Regions from separate parts of the Homo sapiens genome. Here region 1 is linked to region 2. The links are contacts of gene promoters, found by promoter capture Hi-C in human tissues and cell types (Jung and others, 2019). All regions are on one chromosome and are shown on one strand. Each heading gives the region's core, a stretch centred on a gene start or on the middle of the fragment in contact. The rest is flanking DNA. Distances are from core to core; before and after follow the strand shown. Region 1 overlaps SLC25A12 (solute carrier family 25 member 12). Region 2 holds the start of DLX1 (distal-less homeobox 1).

Region 1 (4,168 bases), core at 1,591-4,090, 270 kb after region 2:
TGTAATACTCTCGTTCATGTAAATAAATTTTCATTCCCTGAGAAATTCTAAAGCATAGCCATATTTTCTTTTAAACCAAATTCTATACATAGGGATAGGATAATGTTGAAGTGTGTTTCTAATATTATGGTTGTAACTATGATTAATTTACCAAGATGCTTTATTAAACTAAATTTTAAAATCGTAGCCACCTAGTGTACGGATATAGTCATTTTAAGAAGTAACTGGCATAATATTTAAGCATTTAATGGAAAATATAAATAAATGTTATACATAATAGTTTAATGTTGTTACTATAGAAAACTGAGTGTTGATTATCTAATTTGGGAAGTGACTCGATAATCCACTCTGTAGTTTATGAACCTACGATATCAAAGAGCATTCTTGACAGTTGTTTTCTGAAGCAGCTGTATTTATGGATTTCAGTGCTTGCTATAGCCTGCTATCCCTAAGGTGTTTGTGAGGGAAAGAAAAATAATAAACTCTCTTTTGTGAGAATACATGTTGTGTTTTATTTTCTCATCCTTTAAGATAAGATTTGTCATCCTTATGGACTCTCCATTTAATTGTGTTCTTTTTTAAGCCTAAAAATTGTTCTGTTTGTAGCTGTGGGAGCCACTGCAGTGTATCCTATAGATCTGGTGAAGACCCGAATGCAAAACCAGCGTGGCTCTGGCTCTGTTGTTGGGGAGCTAATGTACAAAAACAGCTTTGACTGTTTTAAGAAAGTCTTGCGTTATGAGGGCTTCTTTGGACTCTACAGGGGTGAGTAAGCAAATCCCAGCTGCTGAAGTTAGTGATTTGATCTCACCAGCAGCAGATTTTAACTCACTAATTATGGAAGCCAATATGTAGTATGCCTAGCCAGACTAGGTCTGTTTCTCTCTTTTTATTTTCTCTTTGCTCATTTCCCTTTTTGCATTCTTTCTGGTGATTAGCAATATTAATCTGCAAATAAGGTCTTCATTTCTTCTTCTTGTGGTTTATATTTCTTGGTGTCCAAATTATGTGTTTGTCCCAACATGGGTCTATGTCACCATGCTCCTACAAACCAAGGCACATATCTGCAGGTGGAATACAAGGATGATAGTTAAGAAATATAGAGCTGCTTTTCTCAAAGAATTAAAGAGGAGAAATACATCTCTTTCCTGTGAAAAAGAATCCAGGTTACCACTCAAAGATGAGTTTACCCTCCATATATTTATTTCAACTGAAATAAATATCAAATGTTTTTGTCTCTTTCAGGGACCATTTATAAATTTTTTCCAATGAGCCATCTGAAGGTTTAAAAAAAAAAAAAAAAAGGAAAACCCTTTGGTTCCAAGTCTAATTCTTGCTTCTTTCCCCCACTTAGCTCAGAGGTGTACAGTCAAAACAGAGAGATTTTCTTTCGCAGGGAATGTTAGCAGCCACTCTAGACTGAGCACAGTGCAGTTGGCATCAGAGGCAGCACTGCGCCCCATGCAGAATTTTCCCCACCCCCCGTTGTCTTTGTAGGAACTTGTCTCTTTGGAGAGAGAATGACTTTCATGTATGTGTTTTCACATTAGAATATAGGGTTTCCTTTGGGAGGGAGATTAATTTTTTAATCTCTTTGGGCGCCACTTGGGATTCTATGAAAATACTCTCTACATGCTCAAGTCCATGCCATTTATGTAATTTACTGTACTTGTTTGTTTGCACATACAAGCTCATTAATCCCTAGCCTATTCTGAGCTCTGTTGAACTATTTGGCTTAGAAATCTTCCTAAGAAAGACTGGGCCCGAACAGAGCTTTATGCTCATGGACAGGAGGAAAAAAACACCGCTGGTTAGCATTATATACAGGTATTCAAGCAAAAAATATAACTCCGATAAACTCATAATTGAAGTAGAGGGTCACAAGGATGTTCATTTTTAGCATTATATATAGAATAATAGGAGAGAGTTATTCCGAAATCAAACTAGGCTCAAGTACCCTGCTCTTGAGAATGAATGTGATGAGTTTTCCTCAAATATTCAGAACTGTAGTCTCTTTGAATTCCACCTGTACAGCATGTACCCTGTGGAAAGGCGTACAATATCCAGAATGCAGACCTTTCCATGTGAATGCTTGTTTTAACTGATTAAACCCTGCATATCCAGATTTTATTTAATGGGGAATCAAGGTTGAGTGGCATTAAGGTTGTTTTTTTCCTTGATATCTCCAATATTTCTTTGTTGAATAATGACCTTTCTCCTCTTTGGTATACTTTTAAATTGCAAAGAAAATGTCCCCTATTAAAAGGAACCTAGATATTTACTGCATAGTTTAGCCTTCTCAATGGATAGATGCTTACAGAAGATTTCATTTGAGAGAGATGTCATGTTTATTAAATGGATGCAATATAGCAAGTAGGGGAGGGGATTGTTGGTTTTATTCAGGATGTAAGCTCATAAAAGCAGTTCTTTAAATGAGAGACTTTTGTATTAGGGAGAAGATTGTAGGAGTCCTGTATGTGAGCACTATGATTATTGAGATTGTCATATATTGCTTGCAACTGGTCCATTATTCTGTCAGATGATTGACAAAATTGTTGACAGATTAGCTAAATTTCTTCGCAGGCAACAATGATAAAATGACACAAATCAGTACTTTATTAAATTCCATGAGCCTTATTGAGGCGAGTTGTAAAACAAATATGCATGCTGACATGGTTGTATGGGAGTTAGATTAAAAGTAATAGAGCCTGATAATCACGAGGGTTAGAAAGTTAATACTGCCATCTGCTGATTTGTTCTTTTAAATCAGTCTGCTACGCATGAAAGGTGTGTGAGGCTTTGTGTGTATCATTGATAATTCAGCCTGACTGACAGTAGCCTATATGTATGATTACTTGTGGCTCTCAACTTATGGAACTCAGCAGTATCCTCAAAGCAGGCTTAAGATCAGCAGTCAGCAAGCAGGCAAACACATATATAACTCCCCTTTGGCTGGATGATTTAAAGGATATAAAATGTTTATTGTTAGCATCTTTAAAAAATGTATGCAAAAAAGTATGCTAACAATTTGGATAAGCTGTGTGCTTTAGAAAGCTGAGCCCAACAGATGTTGAATTGTTTATTTTTTTCTTTTCCAGTTTACAACCAGCCTGGGGAATTTAACTTTCTAAGGATTATGATTTCCTTTGTTTTGAGGGGATTCTTTTAAAATGTCTTAAGCTTGACATATATTAGTCAATAAGAATACAACAGGCATATGTTTTTGCTTATAGGAGATACTCGTTAAACAATACTTAAAACTGCATTTTTCTTTGCAGTTTTGGCTTCCTTTTAAATAAATGAATATTGAATGCTGTGTTTCTCTGAAGAGAAGATTATGGGAGTTAGTATTCTATAATAACGAAGCCACTGTATGCCATTATGTAGGTAGCAAAATCTGGGTATGCTTAACAGCATGCTTTTCAGAGCTTTTCCAAGTGTACAGTATCTGTGTATGTTTATATGTTGTTGGTTGTAATAAGGGAGGGAATTTGGTTACATTGTTATTGGCAGTGTTCCCAGAATAGAGAAGACGCATGGCTCCGTTTCTTCTTCATGGACTTTTTGGGAAGTGTTGGATAACTAGGCTTTAAAGTAAGCATGCTTAAGAAGAGGATTTATAGCCTCAAGAAAACGTGACATTATACTGCATTTGTAAATAATTATTACATATGTATACAGAGTTTTAAGGATAATCTTTTTCCCATTTTAATGAAAACTCTGCAATGTTTGATGGGTAAATAATATGGGGGAAACTCTTTGTTGCTGGGCTTGTGTATTCATGTCTGGTACAGCTATATTGCTGATGATTCTGTCCCTTTACCTAGGTCTGATACCACAACTTATAGGGGTTGCTCCAGAAAAGGCCATTAAACTGACTGTAAGTTTATCTCTAACTGAATTTATGTCATTTGTTTAGATTACCATTAAGCCAAAAAGCTAAAATCAAGGCTAGGCGTGGTAGCTCATGCCTATAATCTCAGCATTTTGGGTGGTGGGAGGATCACTTGAGACCAGTTCTAAACCAGCATAAGCATAGTAAGAACTCAGCTCTACCAAAACAACAACAACAACAACAAAATTAAAAATTAGCCAAGTGTGGTGATTTATGCCAGGAGGCTGATGTGGGAGGATTGCTTGAGTCCAGGAATTTGAGGCTGTAGTGAGC
Region 2 (4,256 bases), core at 1,011-3,510:
GCCAGGGAGGAGTTGTGATGAGGGGAGAACCGGGATCCAGGCCTTAGCCTGCCAGGGGCTCAGTCCGACCGTGGCTACCGCCTGCGGAAGATACAGCGCCTGCATAACACCGAGCCAGCAATTCCAATATCAACATCAATAAAAAGAATCGAAAACCTAGGAAGGAGTGGAGGAAATTTATTTGCAACGCGACCCAACTTTTCTATGCGCCATCTTTTCTGCCCTTGAGTTGGGACGGACTAAGGAGGCCTCAAGGTTTTGCTGAACTTCTCTTTGGATTCAAAACCATTCTTGCACTAGTGTCTGTTTGCTTTCTCCAGCTCTGCTCCAAATCCCGGACCGGACGTCGGAAACCCGCGCCCGCCGCCGTCAGGAACGCTCACGGGCTCCCCGGAGTCTTACAGAAAGCCGGGAAGGAAGGTCCCGTTTCTTCTCTAAGGTCTGGGACTTGAGAGGTGAGAGGGCGGAGGAAAGGATCTCCCCCCACCCCCAACCGGTAAGAAGGAGGAGGAGGAGGGAGGCTGAGGCGCGGACCCAGGCCCCGAGTGATTAGTCACACAATTTAAAGGCAAAGGAGGGATTAAGCCCGGAGTCTATTGTTCCAGTTGTTTAGGCACGTGTGACCTCTGAGTTCCCAAACAAATCGTCTGGGGAAATCCTTCCTGCGCCCTAATCAGATTGTCCAGGGACAGAGGGCCGGACGGCAGGCAGCTCGGGATACCGAGAGCAGTGACAGAGCTAGGGCAGAGGGAATGAGGGAGGAAGGAGACACGCTGAGAGCCAGGGGTGGACACAAACACATACACACAGTGACACCCCGACCCTGAGTCCCAGCGAGCAACAAATGAAGACCCGGGCGCAGGCCGGCCGCGGAAAGCCTGCGTGGCAGAACGGAGCGGCAGCGGCGAGGTACCTGAGTCTGTGTGAGTCCCAAAGAGGCCGCGAGCTCCGCCCTCTCCGGCAGAGCTAGGTACTGAGTTTGCTGGAACCTCCGGTTCAAAGCCTGCAACTGCAAACTGGAATAAATCGTCCTGGGTTTACGGATCTTTTTTCCCTTGCCATTGAAGCGCACTTCACCGCCTTCCACCACCGTGCTCTTCTCCGAGTCCGCCCCTGGAGGGACAGCAGAAGTAGGGCCCGTTGTTAATACGAGGGGCCGCCTTTAGTGCGAACAGCCGAGAGCGAGTGGCTACCGAAGGGTGGCGGAGGCAGCACCAGGGAGAGAACGTTCAAGAAACTCTGAAAGCCAGGGAAGGGTCCCCCAAAATCCGAGGGCCTGTCCCGGGACGCTGCAGGAGGGATAGAGCCGTTCCCAGGAGCTCAGCTCCTGCCTTTGCAGGGAAAGTTTGCTATTTTTGCAGGCGGTAGTTGAGGTTTAATTACCCTTAATTGCATACATTGTTTATAGCGCTACGCAATAAATAATTACCGAGACTAATACGTGCACATGTGGGTTTCTGTTTTCCAGCGGGGCATTGTGTGCTCTGCACACCGAGCCGCCCAGAGGCCCAGCCAGTGCCAGGAGACGCTCTGGGATTTATCCTTGGCTGGATAGTTGCAAATTGAGGGAATTTTTAAAAAAATTTATTTGCTGTGACAAGGATCTATAGATTGATATTCGAAACCTCCACTGCTCCCGCGCCCTCCCCACCCCCACCCCACCTCGCTCTCCTCTCTTCTCTTTCTCTCTCTCTCCCTCTCCTCTTCTCCCCCGCTCCTTCTTTCCCTCTCTCCCTTGTACCTCCTCCTCTCCCTCTCCCTGGCAAGCGCACGTACCTGGGTCCTCCAGGCGGCTCTGGGCGAGGCTGGCGCTGCCCGGGTAGGACTGCACCGAACTGATGTAGGGGCTGGATGCGTGGCTGCTGACCGAGTTGACGTAGGGGTAGCCCAGCGGTCGGGAGAAGGACGAGGCTGAGCTGTAGGCGCCGTCGGGCTGCGAATGGCCCGCCGAGTGTAAACAGTGCATGGAGTAGTGCCCGTGGGACATGGGAGAAGGAGACATTTGCTGGTTGGGCGGCCCAAACTCCATAAACACCGCCTTGCCCGACACGGGGCTGTTGAGACTTTCTGGCATGGTGGTCATGGTCATCTCTTCTCGCGGGGTCTGGGTGTGGGACTTTCTCTCCTCTGCTTCCCTTTTGGGGGTCTCTATGTTTCTCAGGACAGGAAGGAACCCAATTTAAGCGGAACAGGGGTTTTCACTTTCCATTCATAAGAAAATGGAGTTTGTCTCTTTGAAAAGTCTAAGCATGATGCTGCTGAGCTCCCCAAACTCGGTTCAAAGCTTTGACTCAGCGAAGGTCATAAATATTCATGAGCTGGCGGAGCTGATTGGTCCGCTGTCTTGCATAATCACTGGGGATTGGTCCGAGGCGCTCGGGCTCCGCTGGACTAGAGCGGGCGAGGCGGCCCGGCCTCGGGTAAGACGCATCCACACTTCCCGGCCGGGGCTCCTCTGCAACAGAGCGCGCCGGGCAGGAAGCACAATGGGCTGCGGCGTCTGCGCCGGGGCCCCTGCGGCCCGCGGCTCATCGGCCTCCCGCCTCCCTCGCGCGCTTTCCTCCCCAGGAACCAACCAGCGGCTCCGCGCCGCCGCCCCCCTACCACTGTCCCCACCCTTCAGCGGTCCCTAACACCGGACACCCGGGACCGCTTCTCGTCGCTGCCACTCAGTTCGGCGCAGAGCTAGGGCGGCTCAGGAGGAGACTGACCTCTGCCTCTGGAGCGCGGAGTCGCGCACTGGGGGCGCCCGAGGCGGCCAACAGACAGAGGTTCTCCTAAGAGCCTTGTGCCTAGCGCAGCGCCTATCCGGCCGCGCCTCCCCGGTACGCTCTGCCGCATCCCTGGAGTCGGGGCTTAGGGGCCCTCCCTGCGAACTCACTCACTCGGCCGCTGCGCCAACGCCGCTGTCGCTCCCTGGGGCCCGCTCGCATTGCTCCAGGCCCAGCTGGCCACTCCAGCTCGAGGCTGCACGGGTCTGATTAAAGCAGTGCGCGTGGAGAGCCAGGAACCCGCGCTTCTCCTCCCAGGAAAGGCGGCTGCACCGCCCCCTCCCCCAACACACACATCCTCTTTCCCTCCCAGCCTTCCTCCTCCTCCCCCTCCCTTCTCCACTCCCCATGCGCGGAGAGCCCCGGGCTCACTCGCCCCGAGAGCGCGGCTCAGCGTGGAGCCCAGGGGGCCTAGGGGCTCAGATCTGCTGGAGCCACCGACGCCAGGTGGTCATTTTCCGGCCTCCTGAGGTCTAGCGCGACTTCCAGAGTTTAGGAGTCCCTGGGGGACACCGAAACCCGCAGCAAACCCAGGCCTGTGGTAGGCTCCCTTATCTATGTGTAGACGTCTCTCGTTGCCACCCAGGATCTTCCTCACCTCCAGTGGCCAAAGCGCGCGCCACCAGGCCTAGGGGGCAGGGCTAGTGGAGGCAAGATCTGCCGCTGCTCCTTCTGTCTTCTGGGGTGCTAGGTACAAAAAAGTGCACAAGAGCCCCCACCCCATCGCCACTACTACCAATACAGCCAGTCCCTCGCGGTGTGGCGTACACCACCCTGGCTGTAAGTGGATGTTGGTTCCCCATCCCGCCAGCCCCACGGTGAATCCCAAATTACTTTGTTAGGTAATTAGAAAGTGTTGATAATTATTTCTTTCATAATTTAGCGGTGTGACGGGAACGGGGAAATGATCTTGTGAAAGTTCACACGTGCAGATGTATTAGTTACTGATTCATTTGATTAAATGGTAGTCTCAAGTGCTCAGATCCGCAGCTGAAGGCGCCCCATTAGCATAACACTGATGTTTAATTTTCATACGCATAATTAGCCATATATTTAACACTAATAGCAACATGCAGCCTTTCAGCGTTAAACAGCCCGGGATTTGATCTGGCCTGAGCTGAACCTTCATCGCTGCACCTTCCCCTGTCTGGAGTGTGCAATGATCACAGGACAAACCTCTGTAATCAAGCACATTTTGGCAGAGGGAACACCAATAAAAATGAACATTCAAAACAAATTACATCGGTGCTGTCGTTACAGATATTAGTAGAGGGGGTTTCTCTTTTTTTTTAACTTCTGTACCAGCTGCTGCTGCCCGCAGAATTCCTCTCCTTTGGTTTAAGGGCACAATGCTGGGGGCAGAAATATTTCAGGCAGAGTGGTTGGAGCAAAAAGAAAAGCAAAAGCAAAAAAAACCCAATACGCCAAACCAATAACGGGTTTGCCAACGTTTAAAAGATTTTTTTTTTCTTAATCACCGAACCA

Evidence for each region. Contacts are between HindIII fragments. The study calls those that stand out against the background at their distance.
Region 1: a contact is called between a fragment that was not itself captured here and the fragment with the promoter of DLX1 in region 2, in 4 of the 25 tissues and cell types used here (H1 embryonic stem cells, adrenal gland, heart right ventricle and 1 more).

Annotation. Positions count from the first base shown.
Region 1 is chr2:171,809,936-171,814,103 of GRCh38, reverse strand. SLC25A12 (solute carrier family 25 member 12) reads left to right here. Exons shown (of 18, transcript NM_003705.5): 11 at 607-765; 12 at 3,828-3,880. Among named protein-coding and RNA genes, the nearest start is that of SLC25A12, 82 kb to the left of the region's middle. The HindIII fragment of the contact is 4,001 bases long and covers 840-4,168 here.
Region 2 is chr2:172,083,511-172,087,766 of GRCh38, reverse strand. It overlaps DLX1 (distal-less homeobox 1), which reads right to left and starts at 2,260. Exons shown (of 3, transcript NM_178120.5): 1 at 1,777-2,260; 2 at 914-1,113. The coding sequence starts at 2,089. RefSeq lists enhancers at 1,389-2,000, 2,032-2,151, 2,001-2,614, 2,615-3,226, 3,227-3,840 and 1 more and a silencer at 2,432-2,541. The HindIII fragment of the contact is 6,806 bases long and covers 313-4,256 here.